7 separate regions of the Homo sapiens genome follow, and all the other regions are linked to region 2. The links are contacts of gene promoters, found by promoter capture Hi-C in blood cells and fetal thymus (Javierre and others, 2016). All regions are on one chromosome and are shown on one strand. The core of a region is centred on a gene start or on the middle of the fragment in contact, and the rest is flanking DNA. Distances in the headings are between cores, read along the strand shown.

What was found. Contacts are between HindIII fragments. The CHiCAGO score rates a contact against its expected background, and 5 or more counts as called.
Region 1: a fragment that was not itself captured here is called in contact with the fragment with the promoter of FBXO4 in region 2 in 2 of 17 cell types (fetal thymus and total CD8 T cells); the score reaches 5.7 in fetal thymus.
Region 3: a contact is called between a fragment that was not itself captured here and the fragment with the promoter of FBXO4 in region 2, in 2 of 17 cell types (non-activated CD4 T cells and activated CD4 T cells). The highest score is 6.0, in non-activated CD4 T cells.
Region 4: a contact is called between a fragment that was not itself captured here and the fragment with the promoter of FBXO4 in region 2, in 4 of 17 cell types (naive CD8 T cells, total CD8 T cells, non-activated CD4 T cells and 1 more). The highest score is 7.7, in naive CD8 T cells.
Region 5: a fragment that was not itself captured here is called in contact with the fragment with the promoter of FBXO4 in region 2 in 1 of 17 cell types (total CD4 T cells); the score reaches 5.4 in total CD4 T cells.
Region 6: a fragment that was not itself captured here is called in contact with the fragment with the promoter of FBXO4 in region 2 in 3 of 17 cell types (total CD8 T cells, activated CD4 T cells and non-activated CD4 T cells); the score reaches 7.3 in total CD8 T cells.
Region 7: a fragment that was not itself captured here is called in contact with the fragment with the promoter of FBXO4 in region 2 in 6 of 17 cell types (non-activated CD4 T cells, activated CD4 T cells, naive B cells and 3 more); the score reaches 9.0 in non-activated CD4 T cells.

Annotation. Positions count from the first base shown.
Region 1 is chr5:43,488,492-43,492,071 of GRCh38, forward strand. C5orf34 (chromosome 5 open reading frame 34) reads right to left here. Exons shown (of 13, transcript NM_198566.4): 11 at 2,140-2,238. All of the region lies in intron 2 of C5orf34-AS1 (C5orf34 antisense RNA 1), which reads left to right. Among named protein-coding and RNA genes, the nearest start is that of C5orf34-AS1, 6.4 kb to the left of the region's middle. RefSeq lists an enhancer at 322-491. The HindIII fragment of the contact is 215 bases long and covers 1,773-1,987 here.
Region 2 is chr5:41,923,002-41,926,778 of GRCh38, forward strand. FBXO4 (F-box protein 4) reads left to right here and starts at 2,280. Exons shown (of 7, transcript NM_012176.3): 1 at 2,280-2,497. The coding sequence starts at 2,309. RefSeq lists a silencer at 2,538-2,717. The HindIII fragment of the contact is 6,278 bases long and covers 815-3,777 here.
Region 3 is chr5:43,506,261-43,509,808 of GRCh38, forward strand. It overlaps C5orf34 (chromosome 5 open reading frame 34), which reads right to left. Exons shown (of 13, transcript NM_198566.4): 2 at 2,885-3,115; 3 at 2,317-2,406; 4 at 1-134. The coding sequence starts at 3,079. LOC124900190 (a long non-coding RNA gene) reads left to right here and starts at 3,109. Exons shown (of 3, transcript XR_007058764.1): 1 at 3,109-3,548. It overlaps C5orf34-AS1 (C5orf34 antisense RNA 1), which reads left to right. Exons shown (of 3, transcript XR_007058763.1): 3 at 1-937. The HindIII fragment of the contact is 2,348 bases long and covers 1,080-3,427 here.
Region 4 is chr5:43,597,178-43,601,190 of GRCh38, forward strand. All of the region lies in intron 1 of NNT-AS1 (NNT antisense RNA 1), which reads right to left. Among named protein-coding and RNA genes, the nearest start is that of NNT, 4.0 kb to the right of the region's middle. The HindIII fragment of the contact is 3,540 bases long and covers 715-4,013 here.
Region 5 is chr5:43,615,828-43,619,428 of GRCh38, forward strand. It overlaps NNT (nicotinamide nucleotide transhydrogenase), which reads left to right. Exons shown (of 22, transcript NM_182977.3): 4 at 21-238; 5 at 3,205-3,292. Among named protein-coding and RNA genes, the nearest start is that of NNT-AS1, 14 kb to the left of the region's middle. The HindIII fragment of the contact is 2,643 bases long and covers 798-3,440 here.
Region 6 is chr5:43,307,397-43,310,932 of GRCh38, forward strand. It overlaps HMGCS1 (3-hydroxy-3-methylglutaryl-CoA synthase 1), which reads right to left. Exons shown (of 11, transcript NM_001098272.3): 2 at 370-428. Among named protein-coding and RNA genes, the nearest start is that of HMGCS1, 4.2 kb to the right of the region's middle. The HindIII fragment of the contact is 902 bases long and covers 1,406-2,307 here.
Region 7 is chr5:43,557,299-43,561,057 of GRCh38, forward strand. It overlaps a transcript of PAIP1 not described here. Among named protein-coding and RNA genes, the nearest start is that of PAIP1, 2.1 kb to the left of the region's middle. RefSeq lists a silencer at 1-74. The HindIII fragment of the contact is 889 bases long and covers 1,804-2,692 here.

The DNA.
Region 1 (3,580 bases), core at 630-3,129, 1.6 Mb after region 2:
CATTTATATGGAACTCTTTGGGAATGGATGGTATGGGAGATCCAAGTTTTTAAATAGTTGAATTACGTGTCAAAACAACTATTTTTTATTAAATTCTTTCTGGAATAGACTACCTACTTATTTCATTGTTTTTTTAAGCACAGAGGGTTAACATGATGAACATTAGCTCTTATACCATGTTCTATAGAAAGATAGTGGGACAACTGGTATGGAGTAGAGGGCTAATATATACGTCTCCAGCAGAACCCCTAAGTGTGTGTTCTTTATCCTTTTTCTTATCAAGTTAGAATGAAATATGAGCAATGGCATACAACTACAAACTGTAACTTGACTAGCTCTCTGCAAAATTAATGAAGACATTAGTCTAAAATATTCAAGTCACCAGAAAAATCTTCACAGTTCGTAGTAGGTTGTGTGACTTGTCTGCTTTATTGGCTTTACTACAACAGATCACATGCACCTCCCTGTCAGCTTGTACTCTTTCCCTTGTACTCCAGCCTATGGATGGAGAATGAAAAGAAATATTTCATAATTTTAAACACCTGTGGCAAAGAACTTGGATACAACTTACCCCAACAACCAGCTGATTGTTCATTATTGCAAAATATCTTTTTTTTTTTAAACCCAACGCATTTTTCTGGATGTAAGAAACAATACAACCTTTATTGTTATTGCTCTCATAATGAACGAACTTTTTATGAAACGTACTATTTGTTGACTAAAAAGTTGAATTAATAAGCTAATAATGGAGGGTGTGGCGGAAAAAAAATACTAGAATACAACTTAGGTAGCTTTTTATTGTACAATCTTGTTTCTTCCTTCAACCTACCCTCTTTGATAAGAAAAACCGAAGTGGAGATACCTAAGGCTTTATAGGGGGAATGGAGCTACTCCTCAATTTCTTTATCTTGCCTCTGCTGTTCCTAGTTGCTTTCACCTTTAGCTACTATCACCAATCTCTACTTGCAGTTTTTAGTGTGTATTGACAGCCTCTTCTCAGCTTTCAAATAAAAAGGCTGATGATATTTTACAAACTGCCAGCTAAGCAATGGTGAAGTGATGGTTTTATAGACAAGTACAATTTTCCTTCCATCACAATTGTTTTTTGCTAGTTACTTTAGCAACTTTTCTGCTTCCAAACAGGCTACAGCTAAAGGATGAGGGATCTGCAAAGCTGGATCCTTAAGCTACCTGAGATATTCAAATAACGCTTACTGATATGATTTGATTTGTTCTAAGAAAGGGCTTAGGAAAAGGTAACAAAAATTGGCTTAATGTTTACATTTTGTTTCACTACACTATGTTAGGTCACCTCACAAAACTTACTTAAAAAGCTTCCCAAATTGTTCCTGGTATCCCTGTCTTCCCATATATTCAGGTTAGACTCTCAGTGACACTAATCTTCTAATGACCTTTCTTCCTATCATTTTTCCATTTAGGACTTTCTAATTCCATCAGGTCTGAACTCCTATTTATTATAAGATCCATTCCTAGCCCTCAAAACTCATACTATATACTAATAGATAGCATATGTTCCATAAAAACTATCTTCTATCTCCACAGGCTAAAATATCCTTTTTACTTCTGCCCTTATTTCCTCCCTAAAATGTCTTATATTTTCACAGAAAGTTCCCTTGAAGCCCAGTTCTAGTACCCTGCACACTGAAAAGCACACAGGAGGGACTAAAATACTTGCTTTATTTGATCTGCCAGTTAATTTGGGAGAAGTAACTAATATGACAGAAATTATTTAAAAATCAATGTTTTCTGAAAGCTTATGTTATTAAACCTTTTATTTCCTTCAACATTACTAAAAATTTAAGAATCCCCTTTAAATTTTTCCATAAAGTTTTCAGGATGAATTTGTCACATAAAAAGAGCCACTCATTTTCATGTTAAGTTTTCAATGCAAGGTTTTCTTACCTTTAGGTAAAATAGAATATGATGAAATGTAATAAATTAGATGTCTGATTAGAAATTATTTTCAAGCTTAAGCTATCAAAAATACTTTAGGAGTTAAACATATTCAAAACTAAGAAAGTTTTTTTGGGGAAAAAAGTCTCAGTTTACCATTTGACATTTTAATTTTTTTTAAAGTATTAGCTCTTCTAAACAGATTTAAGTTTAAAAGAAAAATACCAATTTTCTTGGAGAACAGAAGATGACGAATGAGTGGGCATCTCTCTGGGACTAGTCTGGGTCAGTCTCCTGCACCATGATGTTACTGTTGTCACATATCTAAAGTGAATACATTAAAAGAAATACTTGAAAAATGAACTTGAATACATTATAAAATTATAAACAAATGTAAAAATAAGACAATTTGGGAAAAAAGGATAAAGAAAAAATGTTAAAGTGAAGCATTTACTGGGCAATTCTCAAAATATTTTTCACTGGTCATAGAAAAGCCAAATTTTTTCCATTATTCATCAAGAATAAAATGATTTACTTATATTTGTGATTAATACAAGTGACATTTAAGAATCAAAATAAAGGCGATATTTGGATTTCATTTAAAGTTCAATTTTAAATGTTCTAATTCTTTTAGTTTTTCAAAGTAAAATGCGTTTAAGTTTTATCAAAAAATATTCACACAAAATAAGACTGACTGAGCATTTGCTTACTAAAATTTAAACCAAAAAACACCTGCTAATGCATATACACATATGCTTGTATGCATATGTGTAATTATATGTAACTTACTACATATCTAAAACAAGTATCAAGTTTAATAAAATGAATGATCTGAAATGATTGGCTGAATCAATAGAAATGTTTGCTAAAGAAACTATCTTTTTTGAGGCAAATCATTAATAGCAATGAATGAGCACTTAGACTGAAACACAATAAAACCCAACAGAAAAATACATTCAAGAGGTAACAAAAAGCTATTATTTTGTGAATATTCTCAAGTGAAATCACTAAAATGTGAAGACTATCACAAGATTTACTGTAATAAATTAGATAAACCAAAAGAAAAAAAATTCATAAAAAGCTGAAGACTCTTCCCCATTTTAAGATAATCATTGCGTAATTTTATCCACTTTATAGAAATATACAGAATTTCAGTTATTTGTGGTTGCAAATCTTATTTCAAATTGGCTAGAGGATTAGTTAATTGTTAACACAGCTGACCATATCCAACCTCCACAGCAAATCAGTATGTCTATAACACATTTCATTTTGAAAAGTTACTTGAATACAAATGAAATGATTAAAGCTGACCTGAAGGCCGGGCATGGTGGCTCATGCCTGTAATCTCAGCACTTTGGGAGGCCAAGGTGGGCAGATCACCTGAGGTCGGGAGTTCAAGACAAGCCTGACCAACATGGAGAAACCCCATCTCTACTAAAAATACAAAAATTAGCCGGGCATGGTGGCACATGCCTGTAATCCCAGCTACTCAGGAGGCTGAGGCAGGAGAATCGCTTGAACCCAGGAGGCGGAGGTTGTGGTGAGCCGAGATCGTGCCATTGTACTCCGGCCCAGGCCACAGGAGCAAAACTCTGTCTCAAAAAAAAAAAAAAAAAAAAAGCTGACTTGATCTATTTAGTTATGCTAAACACAAGTACAGCTATCA
Region 2 (3,777 bases), core at 1,030-3,529:
ATGTGAAGAAATCTTAAACTCTTCAGTAATTAAATTGTTAATCATAACTATGTTAATATAATTAGAAATGAGGATTTTTAGTGTATGAGAAAAGATACATACAAAATCAAAGAGTAAAAACAATCTGTAATCCTAAATTTGAATGGGAAATAACACGAAGTTATGTTTTCTCTATATAAAAGACACTAGAAAGGCCTGGAAACCATGTTCAAATACCATTCCCGTCAAAATGAGCCAGAGTTTTCTGGAAATATAGCTAATTCTGGCTTGAGCAGGACAATCAAATGACTGACGGAAAATTTTTCTTTAATTCAGCTAATAAAAGGAATTATAGAACTAGAATACTAACATTTTATAACTTGTAAGCAAATAATATTCATTGATAAATGCTCTATCTTTGAGGTGAAAAACTTACAGGAAATTTGAATGGATCAGCCCAGTGAAACCACTGATCACTCCGAACATTAGAAAATGAGAATGACTTGTAGCTTTCAGTCTCAGTATATAATACCATTTACGAATGTGTTAAAGACACTATTGAGATGCCATTAATAGTGTGCAGGCCGTGTTCAGTGGGTCACACTTGTAATCCTAGCACTTTGGAAGGCCACAGCAGGAGGATCACTTGAGCCTGGGAGGTCGAGACCAGCCTGGAAAACATGGTGAAACTCCATCTCTACTAACAAAAAAAAAAAAAAAAGAAGAAGAAGAATATAGAAAAAAGAAAGTCCAGAGTGGTCCAGAAAGACCAACCTGCTTTCTTTAACAAATATCAAGGGAAAATAAAGGAGGGGGAGCTATACAATGAAACTTAAGCTTTAAGAGTATCCGTAATGTGTGACCCTTGTTGGGCTATGATTCAAACAAATCAAATGTGAAAAATTATTTTCAAAGCAGATGGGGAAGTTAAACACTGACTCGGTATTTGGTGATTTTAATGAATTAAAATTGCTTAGGTACAGTGGTCTGTTTCTTAAAATCTGTTTTTTTTAGGGACGGATACTGAGATATTTACAGATGATAGGTCTGGGATTTGTTTCAAAAGGATCCAGAATTGGGGGTGTAGTATTAGGTGAGTATAGCAACAGCACAAGATTAACCAGGTGTTGGTAATGGAATCTTGGATACTGGGCACACAGGAGCATATTATTCACTCTCCTTTTATAAATGTTCAAAATTTTCCGTAATAAAGTTTTTCTCATTCATTTAACAGATATCATTTTAATACTTTATACTTGAACTGATTTTTTTTCTTGCTCTAGTTCGTTTTTTGCTCTCAAAGTAAATCGTGTCCTAGAAAGTGATGAGAAATGCCATATGGTTAATCCGTGGTCCTTGTCCAGATTGCCTCCCAAAAACGAGGCTGCAATTTTATTGGTTATTGGCCCCTACCAACAACATGCAAATAATAAAATGTAATGAAACTTAAACTTGTATGTTACAGAGCCTTGCAGAACCTTAGTTATCAGGCTTTCTTGGATTCTGTTGACATTTAGATCCTCAGAGATTTACTTTTTGAATGTATACATACCCAGTTCTATGTAACAGATTAACTTGTAATACGTTCTCTTAAAGCACTTTTAAAGTAAGCCCAAAGTAAGTAGAATGGGCATCTGGTTTGAGAATTAAAAAACTCACTAGTGGGATTTCAACACCACCACATCTGGGTTCTTCTAGCCGTTTTTTGCCGCCCTTGCAAATTTTAAATGTGCTTATATTTTTGCATAGTGGGTCCAGACTTCTCATTTTGGCAAAAGGTTCTTTGTAATTGGCCCGCTGACTGCCTCTCTAGTCTGTTTTTGCTGATACTCAAGAAAATAAATGGTAACTTGGTGATTGAGGAAATAACACACACAAAAAACACCCCATACGTAGTATGGTAGTGCTGAAAAGGAAGCAAGTGGTTATTAAGCCCAAGACAGTGGCAGAGGTCTATCGAACAAGCGGAGTCGCCTAGGACCAGGCATAGTGGAAATGATCCCGGAGAGAACATCTTGAATGAAGCCAGGAAGTCAGCGGGCCAGAGGTTGTACAGGGGCTCTGCGGTTGGCGTGGCTGAGGTTGAGGCCACAAGTTACTGGGGAAGTTAATTGTTGACAGGAGCTTCGTACTCGGCTCACAGCCACGCACAGTGGGCTTCCTCCCAGTACCCGCCCTTGCCCCTGGGCCTAACCCTGCCCTGGAGGCGGACTCGCGGGAGAAGCGGGAGGCGGAACGCCCGAGGGCGCCCTCGGCTGGCGCGGAGCTGCGCAGGAGGCTGACGCGCTAGCGTGGCTCTAAGACGCGTCACCCACGCTGCGGGCAAGCCATGGCGGGAAGCGAGCCGCGCAGCGGAACAAACTCGCCGCCGCCGCCCTTCAGCGACTGGGGCCGCCTGGAGGCGGCCATCCTCAGCGGCTGGAAGACCTTCTGGCAGTCAGTGAGCAAGGAGAGGGTGGCGCGTACGACCTCACGGGAGGAGGTGGATGAGGCGGCCAGCACCCTGACGCGGCTGCCGGTGAGCGTCGGCCGCAGGCCGCGGAGGACAGTGGGGCCGGCCCGGGCCGGAGGGACCTCCCCTGGAGCCCCCCGGGGCCTGGGGAACTCTCGCGCCCCGGCCTGGGTCTGGCTCCGTCCATGCAGCCATTCCTGGCAGTGTAGTCACCGAGAAGCTACAGTTGATCAGAAGCGTCTTGGCGTGGACCCTGGTGCTCCGCAGGGGGCCCGAACATCTCAGGGAAGCACCTTCATGGGGCCCCTGGGGACCCTCCCGATCGCCCTCAGGTTTTCCACCCGCCAAAACAGGCACATGTGACTAGGACACCCTGAATGTCCGGTTACGGAAATGAGACAGTTCCCAACTTGCTGATTAGCTTGGGAAAGCATTCCAGCGTCCCTGTTCCCAGCGTCTTTGATTCCGGATCACTGTACCAAAACACTTGGAGGGCCAAGGTTTTTACCCTCTCAAGAGGACATTGTGCCTGTGGCTGTTATTGTGTATTTGAAGAAACAAAACGGCCCCTCAGTTGAAAATAAATGACTTAAGTTACAAGTGCCTCAAGTTACATCAAGGCCACGAGAATGACACACATAACTTATTGTTAAACTTTGGGGTAGATAGGTAAATGAAGAGAACAAAAATTATTGAAAATTATTACAATTCTTTGTCTCATTTGGACTATTGACACCTCTCTCCAATGTGTATATCAACGTGAAAGCTGCAGGTTTAGAATGCCTCCAAGTTTCTCCTTGCAGAGGTTTTTCATAACATTTTAATAGATTCTGTAGAGGAACTAAGATGACAAATTTACGGCCGGGCGCGGTGGCTCACGCCTGTAATCCCAGCACTTTGGGAGACCCAGGTGGGCGGATCACGAGGTCAGGAGATCAAGACCATCCTGGCTAACACGGTGAAACCCCGTCTCTACTAAAAATATAAAAAATTAGCCGGGCTTGGTGGCAGGCGCCTGTAGTCCCAGCTACTTGGGAGGCTGAGGCAGGAGCATGGCGTGAACCTGGGAGACGGAGCTTGCAGTGAGCCGAGATCTTGCCACTGCACTCCAGCCTGGGCGACAGAGCGAGACTGTGTCTCAAAAAAGAAAAAGACAAATGTACACTCTTTGATTTGGTCTGATGATAAAATCAGATAAAGGTTGATATGGGTTTTATTTTGAAGGACAAATTATTTCCTTAACTAATTTATGTAACTAACTGGTATATCCAAATATCTCTGAGGAAAAATTAAAGGAACTGGTGATTTTGCTGGAAAAATAGCAAGACAGTGGTTGCTTTTTCAGG
Region 3 (3,548 bases), core at 1,004-3,503, 1.6 Mb after region 2:
TGAGATCTGGGCAGGCAGAGGTATGCATGACCATCTAAAGATGTTATCTTCACAATGCCACTCTCCATATATATCATGGTACCATCTGTATCAAGACTGGGCCATCTCACTTCTGTTATGTCAATGAAGATATGCTGCAAGGAGAGGGGAAAAGAGACGGTGAGTATTTTCTGTTAACAGTCCAATTTTTCCATATATTTGATATTTAAGTATTGTGTAAGAAAGCTCTTAAATATTTGTGTTTTACTATCTACAGAGAATGAAAAAATGGAGGGCCAGATCTCAGCCTATATATGATTTTCCAGAGAATGTTTGATATTGTTAAGATTATCACCCTTAAAAAAAAGAGATGTAAAACAGACACAAAATGAGAGAAATGGTCATATTTAGTGTTAAATGTATTTTGGTTTTAAATGTACAATGAATTAAACAGATTTGTATCCCTCCCCTCACCCTGCAAAAGTTTACTCTGAAAAAAAACTAGAAATAAGGGAAGACCAACACTATGATACATTATATTAAAAGCAATCATAGCTAAAAATTTTTCTTTAAGTTTTAAATAAAAAAAAAAGCAACCATAGCTTAAATGGTACAGGACTACCATAAAAATTATTGACAGAACAACTCAGAAAATTCAAAAACAAACTCAATCATATCTTAAAATTTACATGAGATAACATAAGTTTTTCAGAGCAAGAGGGAAAAGAGAAAATTATTTAAACTAGTACTAGAATTACTGAACAGCATTTGGGAAATTCTGTCTTGCAGGGTTATCACATGAACCAAATAAGGTAACATGTAAAAAGTACCCATCCTAGGTAGTACCTGGCACACCATACACTAAAATAAATTTCAGGAGGCTTAGAGGAAACTTTAAAAAAGTTTAATTACTCAAAGAAAAATTGATTCTGACTAATAAAAGACTCATAACAAGTAACAGTGTTGATTGTGACTTTTCATATAAGATATAAACAGTAGATATTGCGTGAGAGGTTTTTACTGAATTAATTTTGCCAAGCATTTAGCATTTCAATTCCATTTATGTAAAATCTTACGTTTACACAAACTATTGTCAAGAAAGCTTCCTAAATTTACCATGCTATCTATATGTACGATGTTAGGACACTAAAATTGAGGGCTGTATTTACTGACAGCAAAGCTGGTTTGTAAGGATGGTCATCAAACTCCTCTTTTAGAATTAGACTATCTAATAATCCTGCTGCAGCATCAGCAACAAGCTAGGCAGTTTCAGTGAATAAAGTGACTCAAAAGACACAATGGAAAATTACCATTCTAGGCTAAGTTACAACTTATAATTTTTTATGGCTCCTTTGCCACGAGACAATATAAAATTACTCAGCCGGCAGGCAAGCATCTTGACAGCATAGAAAGGTAGCAGAAAGTAGTTGAGAAACAGAGTTTACAGAGTCAGATAGACTAGGTTCAAATCCTGACTTTGCCACTGAGAAAACTGCCATAGACAAATTAGGTAAACTCTCTAAGACATAATTTCCTTGCCTATAAAAAGAGGCTGCCGGCCGGGCGCGGTGGCTCACGCCTGTAATCCCAGCACTTTGGGAGGCTGAGGCGGGCGGATCACGAGGTCAGGAGATCGAGACCATGCTGGCTAACATGATGAAACCCCGTCTCTACTAAAAATGCAAGAAATTAGCCGGGTGTGGTGGCGGGTGCCTGTAGCCCCAGCTACTCGGGAGGCTGAGGCAGGAGAATGGCGTCAACCTGGGAGGTGGAGGTTGCAGTGAGCCGAGATCGTGCCACTGCACTCCAGCCCTGGCGACAGTGTGAGACTCCGTCTCAGAAAAAAAAAAAAAAAAAAGAGGCTGCCATCTAGCCAATATACCTGTTTTGATTGGATGGACATCCATTTTGATCAGTATGGTGTTATTAAATATTTCTAATATTGTTCATAGTTGTTGGACATAGTAAACCCTCAGTAAATGACAGTTATTATTCCTAAAAGTCCAAACACAATACTATATAAGCAAAATAATAAAGGTCATACCCATAGTTACATATTTCTACTATACATTAACAAATACGCTGTTACTGAAAATGGTCACATAATTACTTAATTTTGAGACCTCTGAGAATGAAAAAGTCACCAATCTAAAAATTCTGATTATAATGCTTGGATACAAAGAAAATGGCAAGGGGGATACACTATGTAACTTTGATGTTTTATAGCAATGTATCCCCAGGTGTCCTGAAAAGGAAAAAAAGGCTAAATATTAAATTACCTGTTTCTAGTTACTTGTCCTCAAATAATACTAACAAAAATGAAGTTAAAAAAATCACCTTTTTTCTTTCAGAAGGTATGATGGTTTCAGATAAAAAAGGGCAAGTAGCTGAAGAGTTTCGAAAATCTAGGGCTCGCTGTAGTTGCTCCTATGAAAAGAAATATAAAATGTAACCTTAATGTAAAATGATTTGAAAATCAATTAAAAATGACAGTACAGTATAATCCATAATACTAATTACTTTTCATATTCTAGCCACGTCAACAGTATTTTGGTATTCAAAGAGTAGTTTTGGCCAGGCACGGTGGTTCACTCCTGTAATCCTGGCATAATGGGAGGCCAAGATGGGAGGATTACTTGAGGCCAGGAGTGTGAGAACCAGTTTGTGCAACATAGCTAGACAATGCTCTACAAAAAATTTAAAAATTAGCCAGATGTGGTAGTGCACACCTGTAGTCCTAGAGTAACTCCCTTGTAAAAGGAGGCTGAGGCAGGAGAATCACTTGAGCCTAGGTGTTCGAGGCTGCAGTGAGCTATGGTAGTGCCACTGTACTCCAGCCTGGGTGACAGAGCAAGAACCTGTCTCTAAAAAACAAAAAAGTTGTTTACGTGATATCTTTACTTACTCTGTAAGTGCTAATGACAAAATGTGTCCTTTGACGAATTCTTTCTGGTTGTTCTAAAGGATGTGCTGAAACAGGTGGTGACTTTTCAAATAAAAATTCAGAGCCACAGGGAGAAAGTTGCAATGTGGAACCATCAACATATTGTACTTGTACTGAATCATCTTCATAAAGTATCATTCGCAGTTCAGCTGCCATTACAACGGCAGGATAAGATATCTTCTAAGTCAAAGACTGAATGAAATAGGAAAAACAACAGCATAAATAGTTCTCTTAATGTACAAAACTTTTATCAAAATAAGTGCGTGCATTTTCTAAGAAGATGACATTGCCATTGCATTTACTTTTGTTAAGAATACTAACTACACTGGATAAATCTGAAATGAACATCCTTAACAAAATGCCTTAATTAACCCCTAGAAGTTTACTCCAATGGAGGAACATAACCAAGAAGAGACAACCACAAGTGATAACTGTCTTTATAATTTTAATAGCTTCACTTCTACTGAAATTTAATTTTTGTAAATTATATGCTTATTATTTAGAAGCTTATAACTTCTAGAAGTTTACTCCAATGCAGGAACATAACCAAGAAGAAATCTAATTTCTTTTTGTTTTTTTTGTTTTTTTTTGAGATGGAGTCTCGCTCTGTCATCCAGGCTAGAGT
Region 4 (4,013 bases), core at 1,235-3,734, 1.7 Mb after region 2:
TCCGCTCATCTTGGCCTCCCAAAGTGCTGGGATTACAGGAGTGAGCCACAGCACCTGGCCTTTTTTTTTTCTTGACAAGGTTTAATTTATCCGTTTTTCCCTTTATAAATAATGCTTTTTTAGTCCTTCAACATAAATAAGGTAAAAAAATAACGCTTTTGGTGTCAAGACTATTCCTAGGTCCTGGAGATTTTATCCTATTTTTTTCTGAAAGTTTTATGGTTTTACACGTAACTGTGTATTCCATCCTGACTTTACTGTAAAAATCTGTGAGACTTAGGTTGAGGTTCATTTTTGTTTGACTACAGATGTCCAACTGTATTAGTACCATTTGTTGAAAAGACTATCTTTCCTTCATTGAATTGCTTTCGCACCCTTGCCAAAAGTCAGATGCATTTTTTAAAACCTATGATGGGCTAGACTCTGGGCTATATTCTTTACATAAATTCTCTTCTCCTCTTCACAATGGCCTGTTAAATAGTTATTGTCTCCATATTTTTTATAGTTGAACTATCCCAAGGGTATTCAGCCAGACTCAGGATTCAGTCCAGTCTTCTTCCACAGTGGCTGCTGCTTATTGATCTAGCTAACTTTTATTTAGCATTTGTTATGTGCCAACACTGTGCTAAGCTTGAGGAAATAAGAGTTGAACAAGGCTTCCTAGAATACTTCACAGAGGAAGAGACAAAAGCTACACCTTAGAGGATGAACATAAGCTTGCAAAGAAAAGGTAGAGCAGGGAGAGCATTCTAGACTGAAGGAAAAGCATGCGAAAGGCAAGGAAGTATGGAATTGCTCCATACATTCAAGAAACATCCAGTGTTTTGCTACAGCTAAAAGGAGGGTAGTAGAGAATTTTCTCATGTTTGGCTTGAAATGTTTGTGGATATCTCAAGGGCAATGACCAGCAGGCAGTTGGCTGCAAGAGTCTGGAGCTTAGGAGAGAGGTCTGGGCTAGAGATTGAGCTTTGGGAGTGGTCCTAGCACAAGTAACATTGTACACAGAGAAAGTATTAGAGTTAATAGCAGAGAGGGCCAAGGGAACATTAGAAACGTGCACATTTAAGTGGTAAAATAATTGAGAATGAGCTGGGTGTGGTGGCGCACACTTGTAATCCCAGCTACTTTGGGAGTCTGAGGCAGGCAGATCACTGGAGGCCAGGAGTTCAAGACCAGCCTGTCCAACATGGTGAAACCCCATCTATCAAAAATACAAAATCAGCCAGGTGTGGTGGTGGTCACCTGTAATCCCAGCTACTTGGGAGGCTGAGGCAGGAGAATCACTTGAACCCATGAGGCAGAGGTTGCAGTGAGCTGAAGTCACCCCACTGCACTGCAGCCTGGGCTACAGAGTGAGACTGTTTCAAAAAAAAAAAAAGAAAAGAAAAAGAAAAAGAAAGAATTGATAATAAATGGTAGGAGGAGAGGAGATAGGAGAGTATAACGAACCAGTGGAGGTGAGATATTCTGGTTTTTATTTTTCTATTATGGGTAACATGTAGCATAAAAAAAGATCTTCAAAGAGATGATGCTTTGCAAAACTTATATTAAATTAGAACTTTTAATCAAATGCAAAATTTAAAAAGTGAAGTATTATAAAAATGTTAAGCGTGTTAAAGCAAACTAAATATGGCCTGAGAAAGACTCCGTACTTCTATATTTGAGTCTTTGTGGATGAACTGTAATCTAACTTAATAAGCAAAATTGAAAACCTGACTTAATAACTATGCACCTGTAACAGGAGCTGAGTGGTGGCCAATCCCAGCAGCCATACTTCAACCACTCATAGACTACTGAATGTTCAAACTGCATTCAAATAAGGCAAATGCTGAGCTGTAACCAATCTCACTGTTTCTGTACCTCATTTCCAATTCCTGTACCTCACTTTACCTTTTTTGTCTATAAATTTGTTCTGACCACAAGACACCCCTGGAGTCTCTGTGAATCTGCTGTGATTCTGGGGGCTGCCCGATTCATGAATGGTTCATTGCTCAATTAAACTCCTTTAAATTTAATTTGGCTGAAGTTCTTTTATCAAGTACTATTATGGGGTTTTATAATCAAGTAGTTTGATAATGGTGATAAATATATGATATATAGAAATTGCAGGAAAAGTTCAATTAGGTTGAGTGCTTATTAAACCAGTAAACCGGGTATATAACTAAGGAAATTTTTCCCCAATTATTAATACAAAATGACTTTCACCTGAATTTCCCTCAAATAATTTGGATTTTCACTTTAAACTCAATAACTGGCAAATCCATCCCTCTTCAAAAAACAAAGAAACTTCCCCCCAAAGACCCCCAAAACCCTCTTTACAGTGTGTTACCCTTAAACACACAGAATGCCCATGTAGTGGGCTGAATAGTGTTCCCCCTCAAAGTATCTGTGTCCGCCTTTATTTGGAAATACAGGCTTCGTAGATGTAATTAGTCAAGGATCTCAAGACAGAAACCATCCTGGACTTAGGGTGGTCCTTAAGACCACTGACTGGTATCTTTATAAGAGAGAGGAGAGGGAGGTTTGGACACAGGCACATAGAGAAGAAGGCAATGTGAAGATGGAGGCAGAGATTGGCTGCATTTATAAGCCAAGGAACACCAAGGACTGCCAACAACCAACAGAAGCTCTGGCAGAGGCATGGGATGGTTTCTCCCTCAATGCTTCCAGAAAGAATCCACCCTGCCAACCCCTTCATTTTGGGCTTCTGACCTCCAGAACTGTGATAGAAATGATTTCTGTTGTTTTCAGCCACCCAGTTTGTGGTAATTTCTTACAGCAGCCGTAGGAAACTAACATAGCTTCTATTCCTCACCAGCTTCCCAGACCCCCTAAACTATGATTACACAGATAATTTTTTTTTTTTTTGAGATGGAGTTTCACTCTAGTCACTCAGGCTGGAGTGCAATGTGATCTTGGCTCACTGCAACCTCCACCTCCTGAATTCAAGTGATTGTCCTGCCTCAGCCTCCCAAGTAGCTGGGGTTTCAGGTTTCAGGCACCTGCCACCATGCCCAGCTAATTTTTGTATTTTTAGTAGAGATGGGGTTTCACCCTATTGGCCAGGCTGGTCTCGAACTCCTGACCTCAGGCAATCCGCCTGCCTTGGCCACAAAGTGCTGGGATTACAGGCATGAGCCACCGCGCCCGGCCAATTTTTTATATTGATTTAAAAACCCATAGGTTTTTGTAATTGGTACTTACATGAATATGCAAAGGACAATATTCACAGTAGTATGCCATGAGCTAGTTTTTTAAATGCTCACAGAAATTTCAAATGCAAACTGGTTTTACTTATGTAGCTTAAACAAATGCCAATTGTTGAACTTTGTGCTGGCTCTTTAATATCAGTTCTCTTTTTTCTTCCAGTTAATGTTGATTAGCATCAGCTCATTTAGTCAGTTAACATTTATTTCCTAAAATCAAACACTCTTGATTGGTCAGCCTGGGAGAAGAGGGCTAAGATTAAGGTTAGTGATGGTTCCCTTAAAACCTGTCGAGTGTCTGCATTGTTAGACACACTGAAATCTAAGAATCCCATCTCTCTGGGGCTGTTCACTTTACTAATAATTATTTATAAAAGGGAAGCTGAGACAATAAATTGCCAATAACCATGTAACATAATAACCACAATGAAAAGACATTAAAGCTACCTTTTCTGTAGCCTGATTTTACCTAGATGGTGGGTTTTGGTAACAAGCCATCACTAGAGGTCAGTTTTTGATTACATGTCTTCTCAGGTTCAGCCTATGTTTTGATTTTTGGCTACTGGGCACCTCTCTGGTTTTTAGGCTTTAAAGCAGATCCAAATGTTATATTATAGTCTTGTAAATGTTTCATCCTTTTTGCTTCTGATAGATTAGAACTCTAATTATTAAAAACTATTTTTAAGCATTTGTGACTACAAAAACTCCTAAACTTCAAATGGTTTAAATTTTGATGTTTATTTTAATTTTAAAATATTTTAAAAATTATTCAATAATAGAACAATCTGTAATGAAAACTTACACATA
Region 5 (3,601 bases), core at 869-3,368, 1.7 Mb after region 2:
TGACTTGATTTTTTCCCCAGGTGCGAGCCCCTATGGTTAATCCAACATTAGGTGTTCATGAAGCTGACCTTTTAAAGACATCAGGAACGCTGATTAGTTTTATTTACCCAGCCCAAAATCCAGAGTTGCTAAATAAACTTTCCCAAAGAAAAACTACAGTTCTGGCAATGGACCAGGTTCCAAGAGTCACAATTGCTCAGGGATATGATGCGCTAAGCTCCATGGCCAACATTGCGGGGTAGGTTCTTTTCCATTTCAATTGAACAAAAGCGCAATAGTGCTACAGAAACCTTCACACTGTAGCTCTTCTGTCTTACAGTGATTTTATTTGTAATTATTGTTGGAGATTACAGCCTTTTGAGAGTGCATTTAAATTATTTTTGACTCATTTTATTGTTTTACAGTAATTAGATAGGAAATGAACTCTATTTATATTCCTTTTTAATCTTAATGAGTAGAAGAGTAGTAATGTTTCCATTCACCAAAGCAAATAGCTGTCAGATTATTTGTATGAGGAACACACTGTATTTCATAAATGTGTGTGTACATGTATATGTAAGGTTGAAGTTACTGTTTTTATAGGTCAAAAATGGTAGAATAGTGACAATTTCATGTGGTTAAATTAATATGCATATATTAGTGGATTTGCTGTCTTAATTAGGTTTTGCTTAGGTAAATTTATAAAATATTTAAAGAATAGGAAAAAGGTCTGGACTAGAGGAAGTTTCATCTGATGTCAAAACCCATATTGATAACTGAGGGCTATGTCTTCGACCTTTAAGGTCAAGATGGTAATAAGCTTCATTTGCCCAATAGCACTAATACATTCTATGTTGATTGCCTGGAGTACTATGTTGAGAAGGATTCTAAGGCCCATTCTGCTTGGAGGAATGTGGCTATGATTGAGTAATCATGCCTGCCATGGGTGAGGGACAGGAATAGCTACATGAAAGCAGTGTACTGCTGACTTTGCCTTAAAGGGTGGGAACAATCTGGAAATGGGATAAGGCTTATGAATCAACTTCTCTAAGAAACTAATTAAATTAGATTTTAATCATGAAAACTATTAGTAGTTGAGAATTTGCTAATATTAATGAGGCACAAAGAAAATAACCTTTTTAAAAAAACAGTGCATAAAAAGACACTAACATGACTAACATGAATAAAGCCTTCTATAGCCTGACACCTAAGCAGAAAGTTTTCTTAGGTTTTATATTTTAGCATAGGAAATATGTCATAGATTCTACTTTGTGTTTTAGCTGCACACTTTTAAATTTATTTAGCCTGTAAGGGAGTTATATTATGCAATGTGTGACTTAAAATTTTATCTAGAAAATGTATAATGTAAAGTTTTAAGGGTGCTGTTGATTCTGAAATACACATATGTGAAAGAATATCAAAACCAGTCGCTCTAGATCAAGTGGTTTTAGCTGTTGAATCTTTTGAGCAAATGAAATATTATGAGACAATATAAATAAATCCAGTAAGAGCTGAGTAGCTTTGGGTACACTGAGTATGGCAGGATTGTGCAGAAACATTCCTACTCTCCATCTCATCCACTATGGCCCCAGATTTGTCTGAAGTTTAAACCTTCAGGGACCCAGGGATCACAATTTGAGGAATCACTCTTCTATGTCCTGAGCTGATATATGCAGAGAGCATAGTGTGAAAGGAATCATCTAGTATACATATCCATACAATGTATGATAAATCATTATCCGTCTCATTCATACACACAGCCATATTACAGTGAAGATGTGCTACTTCCACTTCATTACTGTTCATTCTGAACTTTTTTGCTGTCATGAAGAAAATGTCCAATTTATTACTTTTTTCACTATCAATGTTTCCTCGTACATTTCCTGTGTAATCTCCTTTTATTATTTATTTTTCAGAATAGCAACTGAATCTTTTAGAGCATTAATTCCACAATTAATTTCTTACAGTGGCCTTTGAATCTTTGTCATATTTGCCCATTAAAAATTGCTGTCATTTGAATTCAGGAGAGCAACAGATACTGTAATCTCTAAAGTATTGTTTTTTGCTCCAGTGTGATTAACTTAATAATGGTGACTTTATATGTTTTTGCATCAATTATTGTATCAAGTATTATTATGTAAAAATATGATCAGGGAGAAGATTTTCTTGTCACCTAGCAGGGGAGTTTTAATAGTTGCTTTATAATATTGAGCCAGTGTATATATTACCAAGTAAGAATGCAAAAGTGCCTTTTACATATAAATTGCTATGAAAATGAAATTAGTGTAGCATGTTAAAAATATCCTGTTAAAGAAAAGATGATGCATATTATTTGATTTATTAAATAGTTTGTTTCTTTGGCTAAAACACTTAATATTCACTGAGCATTTTCTATGTGACAGGCTTTATGCGAAGTGTTTCACCTGCGTTATCTCATTTAGTCCTCACGACCCTAAAAGATAGATGCTTTTTGTCCTTACTTTATAGATGAGGAAACCAAGGTTTAGAAAATTTTAAAAATTTGCCCAAGGTCACAAAGGTAATCAGTCAGAGAACTAGGACATGAACTAAGGTCAGTATATCGGAAAATCCCATACTTTGAACCATTAGAGATCAAGGGAAGTGTTTCTTCTGTTCTCCGAGGTTGAAATCTTATTTTGTACAAGCCTATGGCTGACCTAATTTTTTTTATTTTAAGGATTTTCCCCCCATTACCTAAGCACTACCCAGTCATCAAACAATATTTGGACTATATAGTAAAGTAAGTGTGAAGGATGTATAGTCCTAGTACCCAAAGAAAACCATTGTTAGTATTTTCCTATCTTTCTTTCATTACATTTTCTATTATGTTCTACAGTACTTGTTATGAAGAGGGTGGGTGCATAATGGATAAGAGAGTGCCTCTGTAGGCAGACTGCCTGTGTTAGACTTCTGGCTCTACCATTTACTAGCTGAGTGACCTTAGGCAAGTCTCTCAGTCTGTATCTCAGTTTTCTCACCTATGGGATGAAGACAGTAATTGTACCTTTCCATAGGCTTGTTGTGCAAATTAAAGGAGCAAGTGTATATACAACACTTAGAACTGTTTTTGACACATAGTACATACTACATAAATATTAGCTATTATTCTTTGACAAAACTTCATTGATGACTTATGATGATATGTGAGTCTGAGATCTCTCCTTTTATGGAATTATTTATTTATTTATTTATTTATTTTTAAAGTTATAAGGCTGTTGTCCTAGCAGCAAATCATTTTGGACGTTTTTTTACTGGTCAGATCACAGCTGCTGGAAAAGTTCCTCCAGCTAAGGTAGGTACAACTTTTAATGTTTCTTTATAATATGCATTGATTAAAGGAAAGGGTATGTATAGTCTTAAAATACAGTTATTTAAAAATTTTTATATGTTAACCTCACTGATGACTTTTTGGTGTGTATAAATATTTCACGAAACCTCAAAGCTTAACGTTTAAGATTGCTAGAAAAAAATGAACTTTGACTTTCTGAAAGTTCTAGTCTTTTCTGTTTTTTGACTTTACTAATTTGAATTTTTAAAAGAATTTTGGATAACTTGTTCTCTGTAGCCTATATATTATTAATTTTTAAAAAAAACTTTCAAG
Region 6 (3,536 bases), core at 607-3,106, 1.4 Mb after region 2:
CATCCACAGCCCAGATACATATCTTTTGAGGCCATAATTTAAAAAGCACTAATGGCAGTCATGTTTACCTCTGATTGTTTCTGATTAAGTAGTCCATGTAATTACATTTTATTATAAGTACTTTTTCTCTTATGAGTGAACACTAATTTTTAAAATTTGTTTCTAGATTTTAAACATTAGTCTAATAAACATAAAATTAGTTTCCTGAAGCATTAAAGCATTAACAGAATTTTAAAGATGAGGTAGAACCCTAAAAGGGGTTTTAAGAACATATGGCACAAACAAATCGTTATTTTCTCTAGGATACCAAGTTTCCTCCTTCCATTAGAGAGGAATACTTTCCTTAAGCAGCATGACAGGATGTCATACCTGTGTGAAGGATAGAGAACTGCAGTCTCCAGGTCTGTCACTGTTTCCTCCTTCGGGCACTAGGAATTTCAAACAAGAACTGCTTTTAAAGTTATAAATCACTACCCAAATTCAAATACTAATGAATCCAATTCAAAGTGAGTTAAAATAAGCAATTCCTTATCCAATTACATTATGCAGAATAGAATTTGACATTTGCTTAGAAAAAATCATACTTAAAGCTTATAGAACATTTTCCCCCTTATTTTCATAGCCCTTATAGTGAAAGGTTCAGTCCTGGTAATAAACGGATATAAGAAGCCTACTATTGCAGGAAGGAATAAACAAAAAAACCTCAAGGAAATAAGAAGCCCATGTCACCAATTGAGGCTTTAAACCAAGGTTTTCAAGAATTGGGGGAAAGGAATATAAACAAGTTGTAATGAGTTAGCAAATTTCTAGAGTAAAGAGATATATGCAGTCAAGAGCCTGCACTGCATGTAACAGATTGTGGCTTTGGCAGCAATTCTGGACCTCAGTTTCCTCATCTATAAAATGAAGCTAATACAGTTGCCCTCCCCAGATCATTGTGAAGGATTGCTGAGATGATAAAATATGTGAAGACACTTTGTAACACAAAGCACCAATACACTGACTATTACCTTAGTTCTTATAGTTCTTATAAGTGTTTTTCAAAGAAAATAAAGGTATTTTTTCTAGCAAGACCTAATCATTTTCAACACTGCCACCTTCACCCTCCCAACCTTTTATAAAGTGATTTTCCCTCTTACTGCTTATGTTAAAAAATTAAGCATTTAGACAAAGGAGCATTAAACATTATTATGTAAATTAAGTAGAAATAATTTGCGAAGGTGACTGGAACATATTCTTCAGTCCATCTGTTTTGAAAGACTGATTGTTACTTGAGATGGCAACTTCTATGTTTAACACAGCATACACCATTTCCTCTGCTCTCTATTTAATTACTGGCAAATTTAGCATCTGCCCTTAATGGATTCACTGGTAACTACATTCGGATGTTATTAATATTTAATAAAGCTTTACTTTTTTTACATAATTACATAATTTAAGAGCTCTTCAGTCGTAGCGCCTTTTACTTCATTAACTAAGTTTACTACCCACCTACGCCCCCCTGCCCCATAAAAAGAAATAGATCTTGAGTTTTGTAGGCAAAGAATACTACAATATTCCAAAAATGTCTCTAATTAACTGTAATTATACATACTTTGAGAAAATAACCTATCTTTGTTCTTTATTATCTCAAATTATGCCTTTGTCTTCTGCAAATTAAGCAGACCACAGAGACCAGTTCTTGAAAAACAAGATTCCTTCTCCATGTTAAGACTACTTAAATAATAATATTTCTTCTTGATGTTCATGTATGTATATGCATTTGACACTACTTGTATCAAGGAAATTTTCCTTGAACTGCCTATATTCTGCCTTTCCTTGCACTGCCTATATTCCCTCAAATTTTTTTTTTTTTTTGAGACAGGGTCTCCCTCTGTCACCCAGACTGGAATGCAGTAGCATTCCAGTCACTGCTCACTGTAACCTCGACCTCCCAGGCTCAAGTGATCCTCCTGTCTCAGACCCCGCAAGTAGCTGGGACTACAGGCACATGCCACAATACACAGCTGATTTTTGTATTTTTTGTAGAGATGGGGTTTTGCCATCTTTCCCAGGCTGTTCTCCAACTCCTGGGCTAAACCAATCCACCCACTTTGGCCTCCCAAAGTGCTGGGATTATAGGCGTGGGCCACCTTGCCTGGGCCCCTCTTTCTATTTTGATTACTTAAATTGGAGAGGGATGTTAGGTGGGAGAGACACAGAGAACAAAGAAGAAACAAATAGAAGATTCAGAAAGGATTGCTGTGCTACTTAAGGATTTCTCTATTCTGGCTAAACCAGTATTGCCAAAGTCTCAAGCAGATCACAAGCTTATTTCTAACAGGTCTTTTCAGAGTAAGTGACAGAGGGAATCAACATGGGTCAAGAAGCAGTTAATGAATGGCAAGTAGCCAGGCAGGTTACCACAAAGCAGGTTTGCAGACTCATGGGATGAAATATAGGCACTTTGAGTCTGGCAAAGACTAAAACACAAGAATGATAAGACTGCCTAGGGCCAACCAGATTTATGCAATGGTAGTTTCTTCTGGAGTTTACTCAGTGTTCTGAATACTTCCTTCTGGCTCCCTCCTTAGCCTTGATTCAAAGAAGTGGTTGGAGAAGTTCATTGCCTACACATTTTGGTATGTAAACTATAAAATATAAACAGTTACCTATTGATCTTTCTCATTGTTACAGGAGATAAATCTAGGAAATTAAGAACAAGTTGGCAACCTTTCCTCCTTAGGAGCAAGCAAGTAAAAACTAATGTTAAGAAAGACTTGCTCAAACCTGTACACTCTGGTATAGTTCTCCAAGTAAAAAGCATGGACATCCCTGCCTCCTCCCAGAGTTACTGGTCTGCGTATCAGAGATTCTACTCATCTTCAAGGCCCTGTTCTAAGTCACCTCTTCCTGGAAGCTTTCCTCGATAAATCACACAGAAAATAAGTTTTCTAATCAGGGACCTGCACTTCTACAGAGGTAGGTCATTCATACCCAAGTCTACATAGCCTACTCTCTATGGAAAACTAGTTATGGGCAGTCTTCTTATCCATACAGGATTCCTACACTTCTTTTGGGAGAGGGGCTATATATTTTGATTTTTTGAAATCCCTTTGAGACCTTGAAGTAAAGGGTACTCAAATGTCACATTTTTCAGTGGCTGAATTTGGAGTTATAACTACTAGAGGACAAATCTTTTAGATTTAATACTTGTAGCAGCCCTCAGTAGTAAGTGCTTTCTGCTATCACTTTTTAATTTTTTTTTTAATTTATTACTGCTCCTTGCAGAGCAGGGCTACTCTATATGTAGTGTGTCCAGAGTAGCCTGCTATCAGTTTTGAGATGAGCTGCAGCACCATAATGTCTAGTTTAAAGAAACTGGCTCTTTACTGCTACTGTTCAAGGCATATGGTAGGTTTCAATTGTTCCCAGATTCCAAGGTGAAAAATGTAAGAAGCCCATATGGAATCAGAAAACATTTGTTGGTCTTACAATCATTCCCATATGCACCCACAACTAAAAACCCTGCAAAGATGAAGACAACACTTCAGGCT
Region 7 (3,759 bases), core at 998-3,497, 1.6 Mb after region 2:
GCTGGGGGGGATGAGGGATGAGGGGTGAGGGGGACGCTTACCACAGGCAGGCCCGACCTACTCGGTAGTTCTCAGGAGAGACGTGCGAGACCGACAGTTGACGCCCGGGAAATAAAAACACGGGGGGAGGGGGCGTGGACCCTGCGCCAGGGTTCGCTGGCGCACAGGTGTGTTCAATGACTCGGCTCCGGCCGAGACCCGCGGACTGCTGAGGAGTGGTCCCTGGGAGACTGTCACCTGCTCCGTTAGCATCGGGGGAAGGGAGTAGAAACGGAATCAAAATATGTGTCCCCTCTTTAATTCACCCTAGGTGTTTACCACAGTAGGTCACACCTACGTTTAACAAGCTTCGTTCTCTTCCCGTTAACCTTCCCCTCCAGAAATTTCAAGAAAATGTGCTACCTTTCAGTGTAACTCTGCCCTCTTTTTCATCTTGCATCAGTGCTGTCCAATGAAAATATAATGCGAGCCACAAATGCAAGCCACTTATGTAATTTTACATTTTGGAGAAGCCACATTAAATGAGTGAAAAGAAACAGGTGTGGCCAGGCGCAGTGGCTCACGCCTGTAATCCCAGCACTTTGGGAGGCCGAGGGGGGCGGATCACCTGAGGTCGGGAGTTCGAGACCAGCCAGACCAACATGGAGAAACCCCGTCTCTACTAAAAATACAAAGTTAGCCGGGCGTGGTGGCACATGCCTGTAATCCTAGCTATTCTGGAGGCTGAGGCAGGAGAATCGCTTGAACGCAGGAGGCAGAGGTTGCAGTGAGCCGAGATCGTACCGTTGCACTCCAGCCTGGGCAACAAGAGCCAAACTCTGTCTCAAAAAACAAAACAAAACAAAACAAAAACCAGGTGAAATTAATTTAAATTTATTTAATCCATTATGTTCAAAATGGTTTTTTAACATGCGATTTAAAATATTAAATATTTTCTCTGTTTTTTAGATACTAGTTGAAATCCAGTGTATATTTTACACTTATGGCACATCTTAGTCGGGATTGGCACATTTCAAGGGCTCAAGAGCCACATGTGGCTAGTGGCTACTGCGTTGCACAGCACAATTCTAGATTTTATTAATATGTAAATTGTTGTTTTTGTCAGGCCTGACAGTATTAATGCCAAATAAAGGATAGATGAATATAAGTAACGACAAGGAAGGAAAAATTGATTTCTTTACTGTTGGATTGATCCATCTCCATAAATTCTGATTTTAGCCTTTTGTTTTAAGCAGGGTTTCATGTTTTTCTATCTTTTCATCTTAAGAATCATTTCAATTAGGGACACAAACTCTTGTTAACCGTTTTCTCTTCTCATTAATAAAGAAAACAATGTCTTCCCCTAAACGAATGAGAAAATGGCTTCACCGAGGGCAATCATGAATAAATGGTTCATGCTATTGATGTTAGGCAAAATAATGAAGTCAGGGAAGGAAGCCAGCAGTACGTGTGGCTCTTCGGTGTACGGAAAGTTTAGGATTCAGTCTGCCAGAGCTTAGTTGGGATTCCACTCTTGACTATTGCTGTCTGTGTGATTTTGAGTAAGTAAGGGGTTTAGCTTCTCTGAGCCTCACTTTCCTCATCTGTAAAATAATAACTGTGTGGTAACACTCAGCATATATTGCAGAGACAAGATTACAATTTAAAAATTACAATTTTAATATTTTCAAATTCATTATTGTATGTGGTCACCAGTCACTTCTTGCCTGGACTTTTTTATCATACAGGAAAGACCCATAAACTATGCTAAAAAACTAACAATGAGTTATGTTCCACTGAAGTAGATGCCCCAACTCTGCCCCAAGCTTTTGTTTGCACTCACCACCTTTTCATTTCCCCTTAAAACTTTTATGATGAACAGCACCTTTTCTAACAACTGGGACTTTCCCATGTGAAGATAAGGCCATTCTGCATCCATGGTGATGTCACGACATCTTCACACCCTCTTGTTAGGAAAATTAGGTAAGATATCCTTTGCCTTCTCTGTATTTGTTACTGTATAACTTTTGCCCTATTCTTATAATGTGTGGATGGTGGACTTGGAGATAACACGAATGGATTTTGCATCATGATAATAAAAATATCTAATATTTATTATGCGTCAGTCACCTTTTAAGAGCTTTTATTTTATCATTTTATTTTATCCTCATATCCTGTGAGATAGACATTCCAATATTTTCACTTTACATAAAAGGTGCCAAGATACCGCAAGGGCTCAGATCCATCTTGGGACTGTTTTAGAGCTAACTGGCAGGTATTGCAAAATGCATAGACAGAAACACATGAACGTGTGAACACCATGTGGAACTCCCTAAAGAGAATCATCAAAGTGCTCCTCATCCACGTGTATGCCTTTTTTATTAATTTATGGTGAAAGGAGAGTAGAACTAAATTTGGACAAATTGGAAAATATGTTGTAATATGGAAAAGGACCTGCTGTGAACTATGAAAAAAATGTTTCCTTAAACTGTACTTGAAAGGCATTCTCCAGTAAGACTTCCCAAGCTGCCTAATCTTAGATTCTCTCCCTTGTGATAAGTATACCCTGGGAAAACTGTCTTGGTACTTAGCATGCCAGATTGTTATCGTTAGTATTTGGTTTATTTAAATGTCTCCTTCCCTAAACTAGCCCTCTGAAGACAGAGGATGCCTTTTAATCCTTTAGGTCCAACCCAGTACTTAGTCCATAATAAGCTTTTAACAGAAATAGGACTCACCTGCAATGGTCCTGCCTTTCCTTAGGTCACCAGTCTAGTGATGGTAAAAAAAAAAAAAAAAAAAAAAAGACTGTTTTTTTAGAACTTATTGACCTCAGGATCATCATTAGACCTTATGGGAGTAGACAGTACAGCCTTCAAGGCCAGCTAACAGGAGAAAATTTTCATAAATATGCAAGAGGAAATATTTGCAAACCACATGGTATAGTTTGTATATTTGACCCTCCAAGCCTCCTGTTGAAACTTGATCCTGAATGTTGGAGGTGGGGCCTAATGGAAGGCGTTTGGGTCATGGTGGCAGATTCCTCATGAATGGCATGGTGCCATTCTCACAGTAACGAATGAGTTATGGTTTTACTAGTTCCCAAGGAGTTTCCCCAAGAGCTGGTTGTTGAAAAGAGCCTGGCACACTCCCCCTGTCTCATGCTTCCTCTCTTGCCATGTAATCTCTGCACACTGTCTCCCCTTCACTTTCTGCCATGCATAGAAGCAGGCTGAAGCCCTCACCAGAAGCAGATGTTGGTGCCATGCTTCTAGTACAGCCTGCAGAATAGTGAGCCAAATGAAACCCTTTTCTTTATAAATTACCCAGCCTCAGCTATTCCTTTATAGCAACAAAAATGGATGAAGGCACCACATATTTGACAAAAGACTTGTATCTAGAATATATAAAGTACTCTCAGAACTCAACTGTATTGAGAGTACTATAGCCAGGTGCGATCCCAGCACTATGGGAGGCTGAGGCGGACAGATTACCTGAGGTCAGGAGTTCGAGACCAACCTGGACAACATGTGAAACCCCGTCTCTACTAAAAATACAAAAATTAGCAGGCATGGTGATGCGTGCTTGTAATCCCAGCTACTTGGGAGGCTGAGGCAGGGGAATCGCTTGAACCCGGGAGGCAGAGGTTGCAGTGAGCCGAGATTGCACCACTGCACTCCAGCCTGGGTTGAGCGTGACTCCGTCTGAAAAAAACCCAAACAAACAAAACACCTAACTCAACTGTAAAAGGACAGTTCAGTTAGAAAAGGGCCAAACATA